7 separate regions of the Homo sapiens genome follow, and all the other regions are linked to region 7. The links are contacts of gene promoters, found by promoter capture Hi-C in human tissues and cell types (Jung and others, 2019). All regions are on one chromosome and are shown on one strand. Each heading gives the region's core, a stretch centred on a gene start or on the middle of the fragment in contact. The rest is flanking DNA. Distances are from core to core; before and after follow the strand shown.

The links. Contacts are between HindIII fragments. The study calls those that stand out against the background at their distance.
Region 1: a contact is called between a fragment that was not itself captured here and the fragment with the promoter of NKX3-2 in region 7, in 4 of the 25 tissues and cell types used here (H1 embryonic stem cells, dorsolateral prefrontal cortex, lymphoblastoid cells and 1 more).
Region 2: a fragment that was not itself captured here is called in contact with the fragment with the promoter of NKX3-2 in region 7 in 4 of the 25 tissues and cell types used here (H1 embryonic stem cells, dorsolateral prefrontal cortex, heart right ventricle and 1 more).
Region 3: a contact is called between a fragment that was not itself captured here and the fragment with the promoter of NKX3-2 in region 7, in 2 of the 25 tissues and cell types used here (dorsolateral prefrontal cortex and lymphoblastoid cells).
Region 4: a fragment that was not itself captured here is called in contact with the fragment with the promoter of NKX3-2 in region 7 in 2 of the 25 tissues and cell types used here (lymphoblastoid cells and neural progenitor cells).
Region 5: a contact is called between a fragment that was not itself captured here and the fragment with the promoter of NKX3-2 in region 7, in 4 of the 25 tissues and cell types used here (aorta, lymphoblastoid cells, mesendoderm cells and 1 more).
Region 6: a contact is called between a fragment that was not itself captured here and the fragment with the promoter of NKX3-2 in region 7, in 1 of the 25 tissues and cell types used here (lymphoblastoid cells).

Annotation. Positions count from the first base shown.
Region 1 is chr4:12,806,949-12,809,648 of GRCh38, reverse strand. No RefSeq gene overlaps it. Among named protein-coding and RNA genes, the nearest start is that of LINC02270, 580 kb to the right of the region's middle. The HindIII fragment of the contact is 4,363 bases long and covers 1-2,700 here.
Region 2 is chr4:12,887,075-12,889,794 of GRCh38, reverse strand. LOC105374493 (a long non-coding RNA gene) reads left to right here. Exons shown (of 3, transcript XR_007058047.1): 2 at 1-77. Among named protein-coding and RNA genes, the nearest start is that of RAB28, 600 kb to the left of the region's middle. The HindIII fragment of the contact is 4,723 bases long and covers 1-2,720 here.
Region 3 is chr4:12,686,624-12,689,323 of GRCh38, reverse strand. No RefSeq gene overlaps it. Among named protein-coding and RNA genes, the nearest start is that of LINC02270, 460 kb to the right of the region's middle. The HindIII fragment of the contact is 4,651 bases long and covers 1-2,700 here.
Region 4 is chr4:12,830,383-12,833,082 of GRCh38, reverse strand. No RefSeq gene overlaps it. Among named protein-coding and RNA genes, the nearest start is that of LINC02270, 610 kb to the right of the region's middle. The HindIII fragment of the contact is 5,364 bases long and covers 1-2,700 here.
Region 5 is chr4:12,789,796-12,792,495 of GRCh38, reverse strand. No RefSeq gene overlaps it. Among named protein-coding and RNA genes, the nearest start is that of LINC02270, 570 kb to the right of the region's middle. The HindIII fragment of the contact is 5,373 bases long and covers 1-2,700 here.
Region 6 is chr4:12,631,092-12,633,791 of GRCh38, reverse strand. No RefSeq gene overlaps it. Among named protein-coding and RNA genes, the nearest start is that of LINC02270, 410 kb to the right of the region's middle. RefSeq lists an enhancer at 429-488. The HindIII fragment of the contact is 4,665 bases long and covers 1-2,700 here.
Region 7 is chr4:13,543,228-13,545,944 of GRCh38, reverse strand. NKX3-2 (NK3 homeobox 2) reads left to right here and starts at 1,437. Exons shown (of 2, transcript NM_001189.4): 1 at 1,437-1,996. The coding sequence starts at 1,531. The HindIII fragment of the contact is 14,287 bases long and covers 1-2,717 here.

The DNA.
Region 1 (2,700 bases), core at 61-2,560, 740 kb after region 7:
TGGGAAAACTGGCTAGCCATATGCAGAAAACTGAAACTCGATCCCTTCCTTACACCTGATACAAAAATTAACTCAAGATGGATTAAAGAAGGACTTAAACCATAAAAATTCTAGAAGAAAACCTAGGCAATACCATTCAGGACATAGGTATGGGCAAAGACTTAATGAGTAAAACACCAAAAGCAACGGCAACAAAAGCCAAAATTGACAGATGGAATCTAATTAAACTAAAGAGCTTATGCACAGCAAAAGAAACATCATCAGAGAGAACAGGCAACCTACAGAATGGGAGAAAATTTTTGCAATCTATCCATCTGACAAAGCACTAATATCCGGAATCTACAAATAACTTACACAAACTTACAAGAAAAAAAAAAAAACTTTCTTTCTTTCTTTCTTTCTTTCTTTCTTTCTTTCTTTCTTTCTTTCTTTCTTTCTTTCCTTCCTTCTTTCTTTTTCTTTGATTGGCAGGTAACATTGTACGTATTTGCCATGTACAACATAATGTTTTGAAGTATGTAGACATTATGTAATAGCTAAATCTAGCTAATTAACATATGCATTATCTCACATAGTTATTATTTTTGTGATGAGAACACTCTACATTCATTCTTCACATTCTTCAATAATACAATATATTGTTAACTATAGTTACCATGTTGTACAATAGATCTCTTGAACTTATTCCTTCTACCTAACTGTAATTTTGTATTCTTTAATCAGCATCTCCTGAACTCTCCCCTCATCCAAACTACCCCAACCCTTGTTAACAATTATTTTACTCTGTACTTCTATGAGCTCAGAACTTTTTAGGTTTCTATTGTTTTAACACACTGAGTCTTAAGGCAGTTTGTTCCAACAATAGCTAAATGATAAGAGTATTTAAAATGTGTCAGGCAATGTGCCAAATGATTTACATATATTATCTTGTGTAACATTTTTGAGTATTTTGACACGCTGATGAAGTAGGTGGTAGAGATTTTTTTTAATTTAACAGTACATTTTCAGATGAGAAAATATGGATCCCAAATGCTTTTTTACTTTCCAACATTACAGAGCTATAAGGAAGTGAAGCTCTAGTATTCAAATGTAGGCAGCCTGTGTCAGATACTCTAAGTACAGAAGAATTTTTGTCAAATTGGTCTTGTCTGTTAGAGATTTTTCTATCTCCAAATTGTCAAGATTGCATGCTGAGAAAAAGAACCAAAAATAAACTATGTTGTAGAAATACAGAACGTTTCAAAATATGTTGTAACAAGAAATTTCTTTTTAATCTTTCTCTCTTCCTACACCACTGACATATACAAAACATCTTAATAAAAATGCTTAAAGTAATGAAATACCAACTTACGTGTTTGCTTACCTTCAGAGTGAAAGTATGCCAGGAAAAACATATGCCTGCTGCTGTGGATGGATATTAGTTACTGGACTTTCAGGATGCCTCCTACTAATTTATTTTCATCACAGGCAGTTTAAATTATATTTCCCTCTCTTTTTCTTAATCATTTAGCACTACTTACAAAAAGTAGAAGAAAAAAGTAAAAGCTTTCACTTCTAAAATTTCAAACATATGGTAAGATTGAGCAGATTATGTGGGGTTGGATGGCAGGGGACCTGAACTCTTGACTTGTTCCTACCACTAAGTAACTATAATTTGCTGGCAAACCTCTACACATCTCAGAGCTTTGATTTTCTTTTCAGTCAAATGGAGTCACTACTAGCTCTGGGAGTCTATAAAACTCACTCACTTATTCATTCCTTCAAAACTCGATTACTATACACTAGCTATGTGTCAGGTACCACACCCCTCATGGATGACAGAAGAAACAAGACAAGCCCTTGCAAGAATTCTCAGTCTGAGAAATAGGGATGGAGCCAATGAGTACATAGTTCCTGAAAAATATAGTAAGTGTTTATTATTCTTTCCTCAAAAGCAATTGTAGCAAAAACAAAAATGGACAAGGGGGAACTAATTAAACTAAAGAACTTCTGTAGAGCAAGAGAAACTATCAACAGAGTAAACAAACAACCAATAGAATGGGAGAAAATATTTGCGAACTATGCATCGAACAAAGGACTGATATCCAGCATCTATAAGAAACTTACACGAATTAACAAGCAAAAAAACCAAATAATCCCATTAAAAAGTGGGCAAAGGACATGAACAGACACTTCCCCAAGGAAGACATACACATGGCAAGCAAACATAGAAACAAATACCCAACATTAGTAATCATTAGATAAATGCAAATTAAAACCATAATGAGATAGATAGTATCTCATACCAGTCAGAATGGCCATTACCGTAAGGTCAAAAAACAACAAATGCTGGCGAGGCTGTAGAGAAAAGGGAAAGCTTATACACTGTTGGTGGAAATGCAAATTAGCTCAGCCACTGTGGAAAGCAGTTTGGAGATTTCTCAAAGAACTTAAAGGAGAACTATCATTCAACGCACTAGTTCCATTGCTGAGTTTATAGCTGATATGGTTTTTGGATATTTGTCCCCTCCATATCTTATGTTGAAATGTAATCCCCATTGTCAGAAGTGGGGCCTAGTAGGAGGTATTTGGATTATGGGAGCAGATCCCTCATGAATGGTTTGGTGCCTTCCTCATAGCAATGAGTGAGTTATTCCTCTGAGTTAATGCAAGATATGGTTGTTTAAAAGGGTGTGCCACCTCCCCCGTCTCTCACTCCCT
Region 2 (2,720 bases), core at 69-2,568, 660 kb after region 7:
GCAAAGGTCACACGTCTCAGGATGAATTGCACTGTGTGTGACACCCTAGCTGAAATCCTATCCCACAGGACCATCAGGTGAGCAATTAAAGAAAGTGGCTGAAATTGCTTCCATGTTCTTTTTTCTCTTCTAAAAATATCTATGCTGAGACTTTTTCCCCGTGTGTGTGTATACACGTGTGTGTATACACGTGTGTGTATACATGTGTGCAGCTTCCCATGCTTGTGCAGGCCTCTGTGCTAAAGTCGGTGTCTTCATTCAGACTGCACTTCATTATGGTTTTGCTTGATGTCTGCCTCTCTCTTCCATTGCCTTTCTTCTAATTCATGCTCTACATTGCAGCAAGAATGCCATTCCTCTGTTTAATATACTTTCATGGATGCTCATTTGTCTAGACACCTTCTCATGGGACACATTCTGCCTTCTACTTATAACTTATTTATCTGCCTTCTTTTGCACAATGACCACTTCTTCCTTAAAGATCCAGTGTTGACATCATCTCTTCCATTCACGGAGGCTTCCCAACTCTTCCAGGCAGAGTGAGTCATCCATTTCCCTGGGCTCCTCCGGCATCTCATAGAGACTTCTGTTGTGGATTCCCCTGCTCTGTGCCACAATGATGTGTCGACAAGTTTGTCTCTCCCACAGCATACACTGTGGGATTCTTTAAAACAGAGATGGTGTCATGAATTTCTGGTTTGGCAGGTTTGAAAATATTATGCAGAACATTAGTTTTTTTAATAAAAGAAAAATGAATAAACAGAAGGATAAAGCATTAAGCTTAACCTCTATATATACAGAACTCTGTATCTGTAAAAAGAGGATAATAAAGATACCCAGTTGTGGTAGATTAAATGATTAACTGCAATTCTTTACTCTTTCCTTTTGTGCCACATGGGCAGAAGCTTGGGTGTGTTGCTCACTTTGGCAAAGAACATGTGGGTAGACATGAGATGGTGCCAGTTCTAAGCCTGTACCTTAAGAAGAATCACAGTGTCTCTTTACCTCTTTCCTTCTGCCATTACCATGAGAAGCATTCTCTCTGGATACCTGTTCGTATTATCCCTACAGCCTGGAATGCAGTTTGAAGATATGTGCAGAAGAAATGCCCAAGCCGACCCCGGACCTACAGTGAGAAGCAGAACAGCCCAGAGAAGCTCAGCCTAGGGCAACAGAGACAGCCTAGTCAACCTACAGATCTGGGACAATAAATGCTTCTGCTTTTAAGCCACCGAGTTCTGGGAGGTGATTTGTTCCACAGCATTATAGTGGCAATAGCTGATACTTCAACCTCATTTAGTTTTTGTAAGGGCTAGATCTGATAATTCATGTCAAAAGCCCTAGAACGTGGTAAGCACAGATATTAGGATTCACTATTATTAACATTTGATCTTTATTAGCTTATAAAACTAAGTATTTTATGGGAAAGAACAGTTGGAAGAAAAAGCAAGAATCTATTTATCAATTCAATGAGATTCTCATAGCTGAACTTGGCAATTTCTTTGATATTTGCTAAAAGCCTTTCATAGAATGTGAGGCAAGATGATGGGAGGCCTCAGAGGATTCGAATTTAAGCAGAAAGAAAGACAGTCTTGGCACAGTGGCTCTCCAGCATGGGGGGTGCATACCCGCTTCTGTTATCATTGGGATGATCCACCAGCTTTCCTATGGCATTTTCATTTTGCAAAGCATTTCATTTAACAATCCCTCACTTAACCACTCCTTGGAGCCAATCTGTACACAAAAATAGACAGTTACTTCCTAGAGACTGCGAAAAAGTGAGACTTCTAAAGCTTTAGCCAGTAGCCTCTCTTTGTTCATTGAGGGGTCCCATAGTCCCATCTTCACCCCAAACTGCCCTTCTAATCTCGAGGCTAAGATGTCTAATTGCTCCCAGATATCCACGACATGAGGTCCCAGACTCATGTCACGCTTAAGATGTCAAAAACAGAATCCATCATCTTCTCTCTGTATCTAGGACCTTGGCCTCAAGCTGTGGCTCCAATTGTGTCCTTATCTCAGTACCCAAACCAGAACCTGGTGGCATCCATGACTCCTCTCTCTCATTCTTCCTTTCTCTATTCCTTTCCCCAGGCATCCAAGTTCTAATTATTTCTCAGATCACTCCACCTCACTCCATCATCACTTCTTTCACGTCACCTTTTGCCTGGTTAATAGTAAAAACCTCCCTATTTGTCTCCCTGTCTGAACTTCTCTATCGTTTGCTCTTTCTGCTTTTTTTCATATTACTTATCATTGATCACCATCTTTTTTTTTTACTGTGCATATCTGTCTGTGTGTGTCTGTGTGAGTGTATGTGCATGTGTACGTGCTTTCCTAAGTATACTTCATTCTCCCTATTGGATTGTAAATTCCTTGTCTTTAGGAGTCATGCCTAGAATTTTGTTCACACTCAAGAAAAATTTGATAGACCTAATCAAAATTCAGATTAGATATTTAACCAAGCTCTCTGGATAAATGTTTCTACTCCTCCATTCCCATTCGTATTGGTCCATTCTCACACTGCTAATAAAGACATTCTTGAAACTGGGCAATTTATAAAGGAAAGAGGTTTAATTGACTCACAGTTCCACATGGCTGGGAAGGCCTCACAATCATGAATGAAGGTGAAGGAGGAACAAAGTCATGTCTTACATGGTGGCAGGCAAGAGAGAACTTGTGTAGGGGAATTCCCCTTTATAAAACCATCAGATATCCTG
Region 3 (2,700 bases), core at 91-2,590, 860 kb after region 7:
GTTTGAATTGTGTTGCTCTCTATTGCAACCAGAAATACTGATTAAATATACCAGGTACTTGAAGGTAATTTCTGCTATATTTGTGAAATTTCTACAAGATAGATATTTATTCCATTTATATATGAGGAAAATTAGGTTAAATCACCTGTATCATTTCAAAGTCTATGTTATTTTCACTCCAGCTTTCTGCTTTTCTAATGAGTTTTGGAAGTCCTTTTACTGAAGATAACATAATAAAGGAAGCAGTTGATCACAGGCTAAGATGACTGATTAACCTGAAGCCTTATGGTAGAAAGACAGTAGTTATCAAAATCCACATATTCTATCTACTAACTACTATCTTGAATTCTATCTCTGCTATGCATTTTTACTATCACAGTTCTAATTATTATTATTATTATTTTTTTTTTTTTAGATAGGGTCTGGCTCTATCACCCAGGCTTGAGTGCAGTGGCATGATCTCAAGTAGCTGGGATGACAGGCATGCACCACCACACCTGGCTAATTTTTGTATTTTTAGTAGAAACGGGGTTTCAGTATGTTGCCCATGCTGGTCTTGAACTCCTGGACTCAAGTGATCCACCTGCCTCGGCCTCCCAAAGTACTGGGATTACAGTCATGAGCCACCATGCCCAGTCTACTGTTCTGATTTTGTTTCTTAAAAGATCTTGCCCATAATTTCTTGCAAAAATCTCCTAACTTGTATTCATCCTCATTGTTTTGCTCCTGTTCAGACAATCGTCCATCATGGTCAATCATACTATAATGGAGAATATTTCAGAATAACAGAATTTTTAGAATGCAAATCTGATCAGATCTATTTCCTATGTTGAGAGCATCCAGTGGCTTCCAATGGTTGCAAGATGAAATGTAAATTGCAGTTGTGTTATCTTAGTCCATTTTCTGTTACTGTAACAGAATGCTTTAGGCTAGGTAATTTATAAAGACTGTAACTTTATTTAGCTCATGGTTCTGGAGGCTGGAACATCCATGGACATGGTGGCAGCTTCTGGCTAGGACATTTGTACTGTGTCATAACATGGCAGAAAAGTGGAAGGGCAACTGTACACATGTGAAAGAGACTGTAAGACCAAACAAAGCTTGCTTTTATAACAATCCACTCTTAAGAGAATGAATTTACTCGCAAGAGAACTAAATTACTCCTTATAGAATTTACTCACTCCTGAAATAATGACATTAATTCATTCCCCCTGTTACATGTCCCACATCTCAATACTGTTACCTATCTGATTCAGGGCAGGTCAGTAAGAATTCTTTCCAAGAGTTTTTCATACTGGAGCTACAAGAGAAGAGACATTTCCATTGATATAATGACATCATGTCAGTGTGAGCCTGGAAGTTGTTTATGACCACATATGCCTTGCTATATGGAAAAGCCAGCCTGTGGTAGGGGAATATGAAATCAGCATACCCCAAAAAAGAAGAAAAAAAAGTTCATATGTTTCCAACATATTACATTTTGGGGGACACATTCAAACCACACCATGCGTGTACTTAGGTGTCCACTAGATTCTCTCTGCCCCTTGAGATTGAGATAATAACACCTGTGCTCTCAAGGTAAAGGAAGCTTGAGAATTGCTAGAAAAATCAGAGCATTTGGGTCTGTGTAGATAACTGTAGAAATAATTTCTGTGTAGAAATAACTATGTGACATGGTTATTTCTATGCCATCCTCTTCTTTCTCTATACTGTCTCTTTTTTCATGCAGTCTCTGGTACTGCATGTGAGAAGAGTGTCAACTCAGCCTCTACCTTGGTTTTTACAAACACAAACAATACCTACTATCATAAAAATGCATGAGAGGAGTAGAATTTGTTGAAAAATGGGTTCACATACACACACACCCCTCTACCCCAAGACAAGTAATATAAAAATCTAATAGATATATTAGTTTTCTTTTTTTTTTTTTTTTTTTTTTGAGATGGAGTCTCACTCTGTCCCCCAGGCTAGAGTGAGGTGGTGCAATCTCAGCTCACTGCAAGCTCCGCCTTCCAGGTTCATGCCGTTATCCTGCCTCTGCCTCCGGAGTAGCTGGGACTACAGGAGCATGCCACCACACCCGGCTAATGGCTGGATTGCAGTAGTACAATCTCAGCTTACTTCAACCTCTGCTTCCCGGGTTCAAGCAATTCTCCTGTCTCAGCCTCCCAAGTAGCTGGAATCACAGGCACACGCCACCACACCCTGCTAATTTTTGTATTGTTAGTAGAGATGGGATTTCACCATATTGGTCAGGCTGGTCTTGAACTCCTGACCTCCGCCTGCTTCAGCCTCCCAAAGTGCTGGGATTATAGGTGTGAGCCATTGCGCCCGGCCCTATGGTCAATAACTTTTTGCTAGTAAGTTGAAATCAACCATGGTGGAGAAATTTACACCAAATAAATCTTCAAATTCTGTAAATCATCCTTTTTTCCCTCCCGTAGAGCAATTGCTAAACATTTACTGGATCACCAGGGATATAAGGGAAATAGTGATGAAAATATCATCTATTTTATTATTATTATTTTTTAGAGGCAGGGCTCTTGCTTTGTCACCCAGGCTGGAATTGTAGCTCACTGCTGCTTTGAATTCCTGGGCTCAGTGATCCTCCAGCCTTAGCCCTCCAAGGAGCTGGGATTACAGGTGTGCACTACCATGCCCAGCTAAATTTTTATTTGTTTGTAGAGATGAGGGTCTTGT
Region 4 (2,700 bases), core at 132-2,631, 710 kb after region 7:
GGAAAATGGGGGAAAGTTTGGAACTTCCTAGAGATTCATTGAATGGCTTGGACCAAAAGCCTGATAGTGATATGGACAATAAAGTCCAGGCTGAGGTGTTCTCAGATGGAGATGAGGAAATTGTTGGGAACTGGAGCAAAGGTGACTCTAGTTATGTTTTAGCAAAGATACTGGTAGAATTTTGCTTCTGCCCTAGAGATTTGTGGAACTTTGAACTTGAGAGTGATGATGTAGGGTATCTGGCAGAAGAAACTTCTAAGCAGCAAAGCATTCAAGATGTGACTTGGGTGCTGTTAAAGGCATTCAGTTTTATATGGGAAGCAGAGCATAAAAGTTCAGAAAATTTGCAGCCTGACAATGTGATTGAAAAGAAAAATCAATTTTCTGAGGAGAAATTGAAGCCAGGTGCAGAAATTTGCGTAAGTAACGAGGAGCTGAATGTTAATCCCCAAGACACTGGGGAAAATGTCTCCAGGGCATATGAGAGGTCTTCACAGTGGCCCCTCCCATCACAGGCCCAGAGGCCTAGGAGAAAATGGTATTGTGGGCTAGGCCTAGAGTCTTTGTGCTGTGTGTAGTCTAGGGACTTTGTGCCCTGCGTCCCAGCCATTCCAACCTGACTAAAAGAGGCTAAGGTACAGTTCAGGCTGTTGCTTCAGAGGGTGGAAGCCCCAAGCATTGGCAGCTTCCACATGGTGTTGAGCCTGCCGGTGCACAGAAGTCAAGAATTGAGGTTTGGGAACCTCCACCTAGACTTCAGAAGATGTACAGAAACACCTGGATGTCTAGGCAAAAGTTTGCTGTGGGGGTGGGGCTTTCGTGGGGAACCTCTGCTAGGACAGTGCAGAAGGGAAATGTTGGGTTGGAGCCCCCACACAGAGTCCCTTCTAGGGCACTGCCTAGTAGAGCTGTGAGAAGATGGCTATTGTCCTCCAGACCCCAGGATGGTAGATCCACTGACAGCTTGCACCATGCACCTGGAAAAGCCGCAGACACTCAGTGTAAGCCAGTGAAAGCAGCCAGGAGGGAGGCTGTACCCAGCAAAGCCACAGGTACAGAGCTGCCCAAGACCATAGGAACCCACCTCTTGCATCAGTGTGACCTGGATATGACACCTGGAGTCAAAGGAGATCATTTTAGAGCTTTAAGATTTTACTGCTCTGCTGGATTTTGGACTTGCATGGGGCCTGTAGCCCCTTTGCTTTGTCCAATGTCTCCCATTTGGAATGGCTGTATTTACCCAATGCCTGTACAATACCTATATCTAGTAAGTAACTAACATGCTTTTGATTTTACAGGCTCATAGGCAGAAGGGACTTGCCTTGTCTTGGATGAGACTTTGAACTGTGGACTTTTGAGTTAATGCTGAAATGAGTTAAAACTTTGGGGGACTGTTGGGAAGGCAAGATTGGTTTTGAAATGTGAAGACTTGAAATTTGGGAGGGGCTGGGGGCGGACTGATATGGTTTGGCTGTGTCCCCACTGCGTCCCCCATCTGGAATTCTCATGTGTTGTGGGAGGGACCCGCTGGGAGGTAGTTGAATCACGGGGGTAGGTCTTTCCCATGCTGTTCTCATGACAGTAAGCCTCACGAGATCTGATGGTTATTATAAGGGGGAATTTTCCTGCACAAGCTCTCTCTTTGCTTACTGCCATCCACGTAAGATGTGACTTGCTCTTGCTTACCTTCCACCATGATTGTGAGGCTTCCCCAGCCACATGGAACTGTAAGTCCAATTAAACCTCTTTCTTTTGTAAATTGCCTAGTCTCAGGTATGTCTTTATGAAAACAGACAATACAATGGCTCTGCTCACAATATGGAGAATGGGTTATGTAGTGGGGTATGAGTAAAAGCAGGAAAACTATTTTGTAGATTATTACAACAGTTCATGTGAGAGAAAATGGTGGTTTGGACCAGGAAGCAGCCAGAGAATATTGAGAGAAATAATCAGGTTTGAAATATGCTTTAGAAAAAGAGTCAACCTGATACACTGATGAATTGGATATTACAGAAGACAGGATAGATCCTAGATGTTGGGCCTAAGCAATGGGGCAGATGGTGCTGCCATCAACTAAGACTGAGAAGACTGGCAGGTGTACTGAAAGGGAGAAACCAAGGGAGAATCAAGAGAGAATTGAGTTAATTTTGAGGTGCTTATCAGAAAACCAGATAGAGATACCAAACAGTAGTTGTATATATGAATTTTGGAAATAACTTAGGACTTAAGGAAACATTTTAGATTCCTCCTATGCCAATGGGGTTTAAGGAAAAAGACTGGGTAAACGGGAGAGTAAATGTTGATGAAAGGTGAATGTCCAAGAATGAGTTTACGGTCACAGAGGGGGAAAGGAATCAGCAAAGGGTTGCTTCAGGGAGGTAAAGGGAAAAACCAGAAGCATGGAGTTTCAGTCAAGCCAATAAAGGAGACAATTTCAGGAAGGATGGAGTCATCAACTGTGTCAAATAATGCTATGAGATCAAATTCATTAAAAGTAAAGTCATAGCCACAGAAGTTTGCAATGTAAAGGTGATTTGAAACCTTGCTAATTGAGGTATTGGTGCTGATTGGAGGTTATAGAGGAGAGAATGTAAGGTGAATAAATGGGGACAGTGGCAATTAGCAATGCTTTTAAGACCTTTTGTTATAAAAGAGAGCAGAGAAATAAAGCAACAATGGATAATATATTTCACTGAAACC
Region 5 (2,700 bases), core at 42-2,541, 750 kb after region 7:
CCACCCAACAAGAGGCCCCAGTGTGTGCTGTTCCCCACCATGTGTCCATATGTTCTCATTGTTCAGCTCCCACTTATAAGTGAGAACATGCAGTGCCTGGTTCTTTGTTCCTGCATTAGTTTGCTGAGGATAATGGCTTCCAGACCCATCCATGTCTCTGCAAAGGACATGATCTCATCCCTTTTTATGGCTGCATATTATTCCATGGTGTATATGTGCCACTTTTTCTTTATCCAGTCTATCTAGTATTGATGGGTATTTGGGTTGATTCCATGTCTTTGCTATTGTGAATAGGGAGCACTTTTATTCTAATCAAACTGGAATGACTCAGAAAGATTGCTTAAGTGATTGGATGATAATAAGCTAACACTGAAAAAGACTTAATAGTTAATTTAGTCCAAAAATTGCACATGGAGGTTTAGGAGGAAAACTCAATTACTCATAGTATTGAACAGCCAAGTGAAAAATCTTGAGCGAGCCTAGAAGGCCTAGGTGGTCCAGCTCCTGCCCCATCTCCAGCCTCTCGCCATCATCGCCCGAGTCTCTGCCGTCTTCCCGCCATGCTCTTCCCTCAGTGGTTTGAACAGATATCATCTACCATGAGAGGCTCCTGTGAATATCTCATCTTCCTCCTGGGCCCCTTCTCAAATATGACCTAGTAATCGTCAAGCGTCATCTTTATTCCTTCTCCCTCTCTCCCTTCTCTGAGTCTATAAATAGTTCTTGAGTTCCTGCGTGCTTGGCACAGTTCCCAGTTTGGGGGACACAATGGTAAGCAAAAATAGACAAAGCGATGTCCTCATGGATCTTAGAGCATATTTGTGTAATTACACACATACTGTCTGCTTATTCTCCTAGACTGAAATTCTATGAGAACAGGAAAGAGGGGCAATATCTGTTTATTTTTTTCACCAAAGAATTAACATGCTAATTGCTCTAAGTTCCTTTTGAGCCACATTTTTGCTACCTCCTGTGTCTCTTTCAACATGCCTTCCTGTTGAGACTTTTTTAAAAAATTCTTTTTCTGGTAAGCTGCTGTATGGCTCATGTCTCTCAGAAGTCCTTTCAGGTACCTCTGGCCATGCTGTTGCATCAGAAAGTGTGGGCCCAAATTCCTCTACTCTCCTCTGCAATTTCAATTTGGGGAAATTTTGACTAACTTCTGCATTGCCAAGTGAGCTCTGCAGGAGACTGGAATTTTGTGAGGAAGAAGAGCCAGTGTGGCTGGAGAAGCTGAAAACAGGATTTTCTGGAAAGAGCATAGGACACTTGGAGAAAATGGTGAGGATAAAGAGAAAGAATTCAGAAAAAATTTTCCATATAAAATCTGGTTTTATGGGTAAAATGGTAGTTCCTTTTTTAGCTCTTTGAAGAATCACCATACCGCTTTCCACAATGGTTCAACTAATTTACAATTCTACCAACAGTGTACAAGTGTTCTCTTTTCTTTGCAACATGAGGAATATAAGTCATTCTACCATAAAGACACATGCATGCAAATGTTCATTGCAGCACTGTTCACAATAGCAAAGACATGTCATCAACCTAAATGTCCATCAATGACAGATTGAATACAGCAAATGTGACGCATATACACCTTGGAATACTATGCAGCCATAAAAAAGAATGAGGTTATGTCCTTTGCAGGGACATGGGTGGAGCTGGAGGTCATCATCCTTAGCAAATTAACACGGGAACAGAAAACTAAATAATTCATGTTCTCACTTGTACATGGGAGCTAAATGATGAGAAGTCATGAACACAAAGAAGAGAACAACAGACACTGGCGTCTACTTTAGGGTGGAGGGTGGGAGAAGGGAGAGTAGCAGGAAAAATAATTATTGGGTACAAGGCTTAATATCTGGATGATGAAATAAACTGTAAAACAAAACCTTGTGACACAAGTTTACCTATATATTAATAACAAACCTTCACATGTACAACTGAACCTAAAATAAAAGTGTAAAAGTGTTGAAAAAATTCTGATTTGTATTAACGGGTAAAATGTTTGTGTCCTTCCAAAATTCATGTGTTGAAGTCCTAAGCCCCAGTGTGACAGTATTTGGAGGCAAAATGTGATAGTTAATTTTATGCATCAACTTGACTGGACTAAGGAATACCCCAATAGCTACCAAAGGATTACTTCTGGGTGTTTCTGGAAAAAATTAGCATTTGAATCTGGAGACTGAATAAAAAAGATCACCCTTACCAATGTGAGTAGGCGTGATCCAACCTGTTGAAGTCTGAATAGAATAAAAAGATGAACAAAGGGCAAATTTGTTTCTGTTTGATCTGAGACATCATCTCCTGCCGTCAGATACCAGCTCTCCTGATTCCCAGGCCTTTGGGCTCACACTGAATAATATTGTTGGCTTTTCTGGTTCTTCAGCTTGCAGAGGTCAGATGGTGGGACTCTTTGGCCTCCATAATAATTTGAGCCAATTCCTATAATATTATAATATGTATGTATGTATGTATGTATGTCTCCATCTATCTATCTATTTACTATTTATTCTGTTTTTCTGGAGAACACTGACTGATACATGGGACCTATAGTAGGTAATGAGATTTAGATTAGGTCGTGAGGGTGGGACCCCCATGGTGGAGTTAGTGCCCTTATAAGAATAATGAGAAGAAAGAGATCTCTCTCCAGCTTTACACACAAACACCGAGGAAAGACCACGCGACCACACATCAAGA
Region 6 (2,700 bases), core at 14-2,513, 910 kb after region 7:
CAGTTTTTCTCCATAAATTTATATGTAATTTAGAACAAGGTGACTCGAAAATAATTAGTTTTTGATTGATTTACTTATTCATTTATTTATTCATTCCCTTAAGCACTCATGCATCAAATCTTTGTAGAATACCTGCCATGTGTCAAACCCTGCTCTAGGCAAGAGCGTATACATAGATGAATTATATGGGTCCCCTGCACCGCGTGAGTTAGTTGGCTCCTGGGGAAGGCAGACGTATACAGAGATAATCACAAAGTGAAGGAGGACAAAGCACCATGATGATAATAAAAGTGGAAGACACACAAAGCTCTTCATTTTCAATTTTGTAAAGTAAGAATTACACAGAGGAAAGTGTGAAGGGAAGTGTCACCTGTTATCTATTAATGGTTATAATTATTTGATTATATTTTTACATTGAATGATAATTCAACATAGGACAGTCTCTTCGAGATCACATCGCTGAGTATCATCCCCCAAGGCTTCTTAAATTCAAGGTCTACTGGCACCTATGCGGCAATACACATTGTGGCCTGTAGATGGCAGGCGTCGCTCACTGTTTCGATGGATCTCATCCACACCTGACGGATGATGCAGCCTTAAGCTTTGGGCCAGAGTCGTCTCGCAGGTCTGCCTACCGCTGCTCCACAAGTGCAGAGCTACATATTTATTTACTTCGTTCATCTTAAAATCTTGTGATGTAACACATTTTTCATGTCAGAGATTTTTAATGTTCCTGAACATTTTGTGAGCAGAACTTAATGCTTGTGGGAAGGGCTTCAACTTGAATGACTTTTGATGTTTGGATGTAAATAAAGAATTATTTAAGAAAAAAAAAAAGTCGATATTGTAGAATAATCAAGTAAATTAAAAATAGAGGGCACTAACCCTACGTATAAATGTGCCTGCTAAGCATAGACGCTATTTGCAATACCCCACCACTTCCTTCTCCGAGATCATGGCAATGTTAGCACCTTGGCCCCAGGGCTAGAATTATTTCATCTAAGCAAGAATCTATTGGCTTCCGACTATGTGCAAGACGCTGCATTGGGTGATAAGGGGATATATAGTTGAATAAGCATAAAACCTGGCCTTATAGGACTTATAATTCGGGGGAGACAGCTAACAACAATGCAGAAATTCTAGCAAGTCGCTGTGAGAGTGGAGTTGTGGAGGATATTACACCCAATAATGGGTAGAATAATTGTGGAGAAAATGAAATTAGAGTCAGCTGTGGGGTTACCCAGAGAAACTTCACAGGCAGTTTTGAGGAGAAGGCACCTCAAATATTTTGATCAGTTTAGGCAAAACTATATTTTAAAAGCCCCCTGGAAATATAAATTGCATACCTGTTTTTCTTTTTAAATTTGTGTCCACTTCTTGTAACACATAATTACATGTGATAATAAATGGACTCTGATTTTAGATTTCACAGCCAACAAATCTATATAATCCCCAAATAAATGAGTCTATGTCCTCTGTGCAATTTACTGTGTATCTTGAAATAATTGTGTATTTATATCACATTAAAATAAACCTAATTGGCAACTTTATAATTTTAACATATGCTAATCATTTTTAAAATTGCAAAGTTCAGAAAAATTTAGACACTAATGAAAATAACCTGTAATCTCAACTTCCCAATAAAGCTATGCCTAATATTTCTGTGTTAAACAAAATCTTAATGATTACATAAGAATTCTAATAGCAAAATGTTTATATTTATAAAAATCTAGTAAAATCAGACTAAACTTATTGATGCTTAAAGCTAGTCATGAGCATAATGACATTTTCCTGCCTTGTTAAGAATTGTAAAATCAATGAAAACGATTTACATTTTAAAACTGGAAAAAAAAAACTAGTCTCCGCTTTCGCCTTTAACAGATTTGAGTTTAAACCCCAGCTAAATTGAGCTTTTTATTGCGTAGTAATTTCTCTTTCTGAGGTCCTATTTCCTGTTTTGTAAAATGGAGTTACAATGTCTATCCTTGGTTGTGAGGTTTAAGAAAAGTCATGTGCTAGACCTGGCACATGGCAGGTGCTTAGCTGATATAACTTTTCCCCAACTCTTTATGTCAAGGAAGTTCCTTTTCTCTCTCCTGTTGAGAATCCCTGAGAAGCTTTTAAACAACACCCTAGTCCAGGATTCCTTAGCTGAAGGGCTACGGACCTTTGGGTTCTGATAAATCTTCGTTATGGGAACTATAGGGTGTTTGACAGCATCTGTGTTCCCTATTCAATAGATGCCAGTGGCAACTCCCGTATCTGTGGCAACTTCCCTATTTTTGGCAACCAAAAATGTTTTCAATCATGGCCAAAATCATCTCCCCGGGGCAAAATCTCCTCTGCATGAGAACCACTGCCCTAGTTCTTAACGAATGCCCAAGAAATCGATATCGCTGGATGGGAAAGACTTCTTTCCAGTGTGCCCATGCTGTACACCACAGACTGCACAGCTGCAAGTCTGGTTGACTTGCAGGCACTGCTACCCTTTCCTGCCTTTGCAGTTATCACCTTGGTTCTGGGAAGTCCTGGACACAGCAGCTCGTGTCTTAGCATCTTTTTTTTCCCCAAACATCTTATGGAGTCTATGACACTCTGTTTTGCCGTAAGTCCATTATCTGATTTGCCTTGAGTGAATGCTTCCCTCACTGTATCACAGCCTCCCTAACTGCATGGCTGCCAGATCTGCTCAAACAGTCT
Region 7 (2,717 bases), core at 188-2,687:
CACAATATTTGTGTTTCTTAGCTTGGTTCCTACTATTACATAATACAATGCATTTCTTATTTTTTAAAGAGCAAAAAGTGTTGTCACTTCTGGATCACTTTATGGTAATTCCTAGGTATACTTCTAAGCAAACAAACATATCTATTTATAATTTTATTCAACTCACAAGTAAGAGATATTTAAAAAAAACAAATTGAAAGTTTTTTTTTTCTTCCTGATGCAAAACTTAACAAACTCCAATTAAATTCAATATTGGTCTGCCAGGGAAACGACCATAAAATTTACAGAAATTCTCCCAAAGATGCCTTTCAATTCTTCTCCTGACTTTAGTTCTAACTATACCATTTTTTTATAATTCCTCTATAAAAATCGAATCAAATCAAAGACGACGAGGAAAGAAAAATATTTCTAGAGTGATCTTAATTAACTGATCATTTCAGCAAAGAGCATTAGCAATGAAGAAGCGGCGAAACTGTAGGGAGAAAAAAAAGGATGCATTTTGTTCTTCGTGTTTATAATCCTTCCTAGAGAACAGAAACTACGAGCATGATTTATGGAACTGCATTATCTTGGATTTTCTCCGCAGATTTGACTCAACTTAGTATCAGTGTTCTGTTAAAGCGCTGGAATAAGTGGATACATCTGCAGAGGTAAGAAACGTGGTTTGGGTCGGATGAGCCTCCTTGTTGCTGGAGGGTGCTTCGAGGACCAGGCTTAGGAGAGAAGGGGTTAAGTCAGACCCTGTCTTTAGCGGCGCAACGTGCCCAGTTTTGTCTGTTAAAGTCAACGTCGCCCAACTGGAGCCAGCCAATGGACGGCCGGGAGCGCCCGGGACAGCCCAGTGGAGGGGTGTGGCCTCAGGCTGTCACTCAGCAGTGAGGAATGACACCCGGGCGGGAGGGGGGTGGTACAGTGGAACGCAAGGGAAGGAAAGAGAAAAGAAACAGATAAAACCAGGGCAGGGGGTAAAAAAGTTCCCCGCGCCTCTCGGAATCCAGCGGCCGCGGCCGCGGCTACCGCCGCCGCCGCCGGGGGTGGGCTCCGGAAGAGCCTGCCCAGCAGGGAAGGGGAGGACGGGCCAGGAGCGAAATCCTGCAGGCGAGGAAGGGACAGACGCGCAAAGAAAAAGTGACTCGGGCTGTGCGCCCCGGCGGCGCTCGGGAGGGGACTGCTGCCACGGAGGGGCCCCCGCCAATCCTCCTTCACGTCCCCCGAGGGGGCAGACCCCAGCCCGCCCCTAAGGGCGAGAAGCGATGAGATAATCCAGCTGAGCTGCGAAAGGAGAGCGTCTGGCTCTGGATTCGGGGGGAGGGGGTCTCCGGGCGGGGTGGGCCTCTAAGGTGGGGGCGAGGGTCGGCGCTGATCCTGGGACGGAGTGGGGCGGGAGCTGCTGGGCCGCGCAGCAGTGGGCGGCGGCGGCCTCGCACACCCAGCTCACTCGCGCTGCGGCCGCCGGCGCTCTCTGTCCCGCTCGGAGCTGCTCGGCGCCCCAGCTGCCCGCCCCGCCGGCCGCTCCTGCCCGCGGCGCAGATGGCTGTGCGCGGCGCCAACACCTTGACGTCCTTCTCCATCCAGGCGATCCTCAACAAGAAAGAGGAGCGCGGCGGGCTGGCCGCGCCAGAGGGGCGCCCGGCGCCCGGGGGCACAGCGGCATCGGTGGCCGCGGCTCCCGCTGTCTGCTGTTGGCGGCTCTTTGGGGAGAGGGACGCGGGCGCGTTGGGGGGCGCCGAGGACTCTCTGCTGGCGTCTCCTGCCGGTACCAGAACAGCTGCGGGGCGGACTGCGGAGAGCCCGGAAGGCTGGGACTCGGACTCCGCGCTCAGCGAGGAGAACGAGAGCAGGCGGCGCTGCGCGGACGCGCGGGGGGCCAGCGGGGCCGGCCTTGCGGGGGGATCCTTGAGCCTCGGCCAGCCGGTCTGTGAGCTGGCCGCTTCCAAAGACCTAGAGGAGGAAGCCGCGGGCCGGAGCGACAGCGAGATGTCCGCCAGCGTCTCAGGTCTGCTGCGGCTTCGCGGGGATGGGGGCCGGGCTGAGGGGATGGACGCGGAGGGCAACCACGCCGAGTGGGGTGGTCGGCTTGAGCACCCTGCGCCCTGGGGCTCGGAGGCTGGCCAAATCCCGAAGTTCTGCGCTCTGGCGCGAGCTGCTCTATCACTTCGGGAACTGAGCCCGCGAGAGACCGGAGTAGCTCCTCAGAGCCCTACGTCCTGGGGTGAGGCCTGAGACATCCTGGGCCAATGTGCATTAGACTGGGTTGGGAGAACCGCTGCCCCTTGCGTTCGGGAGTTTTTGAGTTCGTCGCCAGTGCTTTCTGCCGTGTCTGTCCCCAAATCCCCAAAATCAGGGAAGCGGAAAAGTGAGGGGTTCAGAGACCTCAGGTAGCCAGTGACCTAGCTCTGGACCAGAGACCTGCCAGTTCAAGGTCCCAGGGCCGGGCCCCACAGTAGGTGGATAGGTGGTGAAGAACACCTCCGAGTGGGCCAGAGCTGAGAATCTGCAGAACTAGAGCTTTGGGGAAAGGGCTGGTTTGGCTTTCTCAGACCCCAGGTCTGGGAGAGCAGCCCTAGGCCGAAGATCCCGGATTGGGTCTTTAGTTCATCCTGGAGGCAGGAGAGAGGCCTCCTCAGCCGTGGCCTGTCCTGTCCTGTGGTCTGGAAGACCCGGGTGCCTGCCCTAGTTGGGTACAAGCTTCTGTAGGCCTCAAGCACAGGGGACCG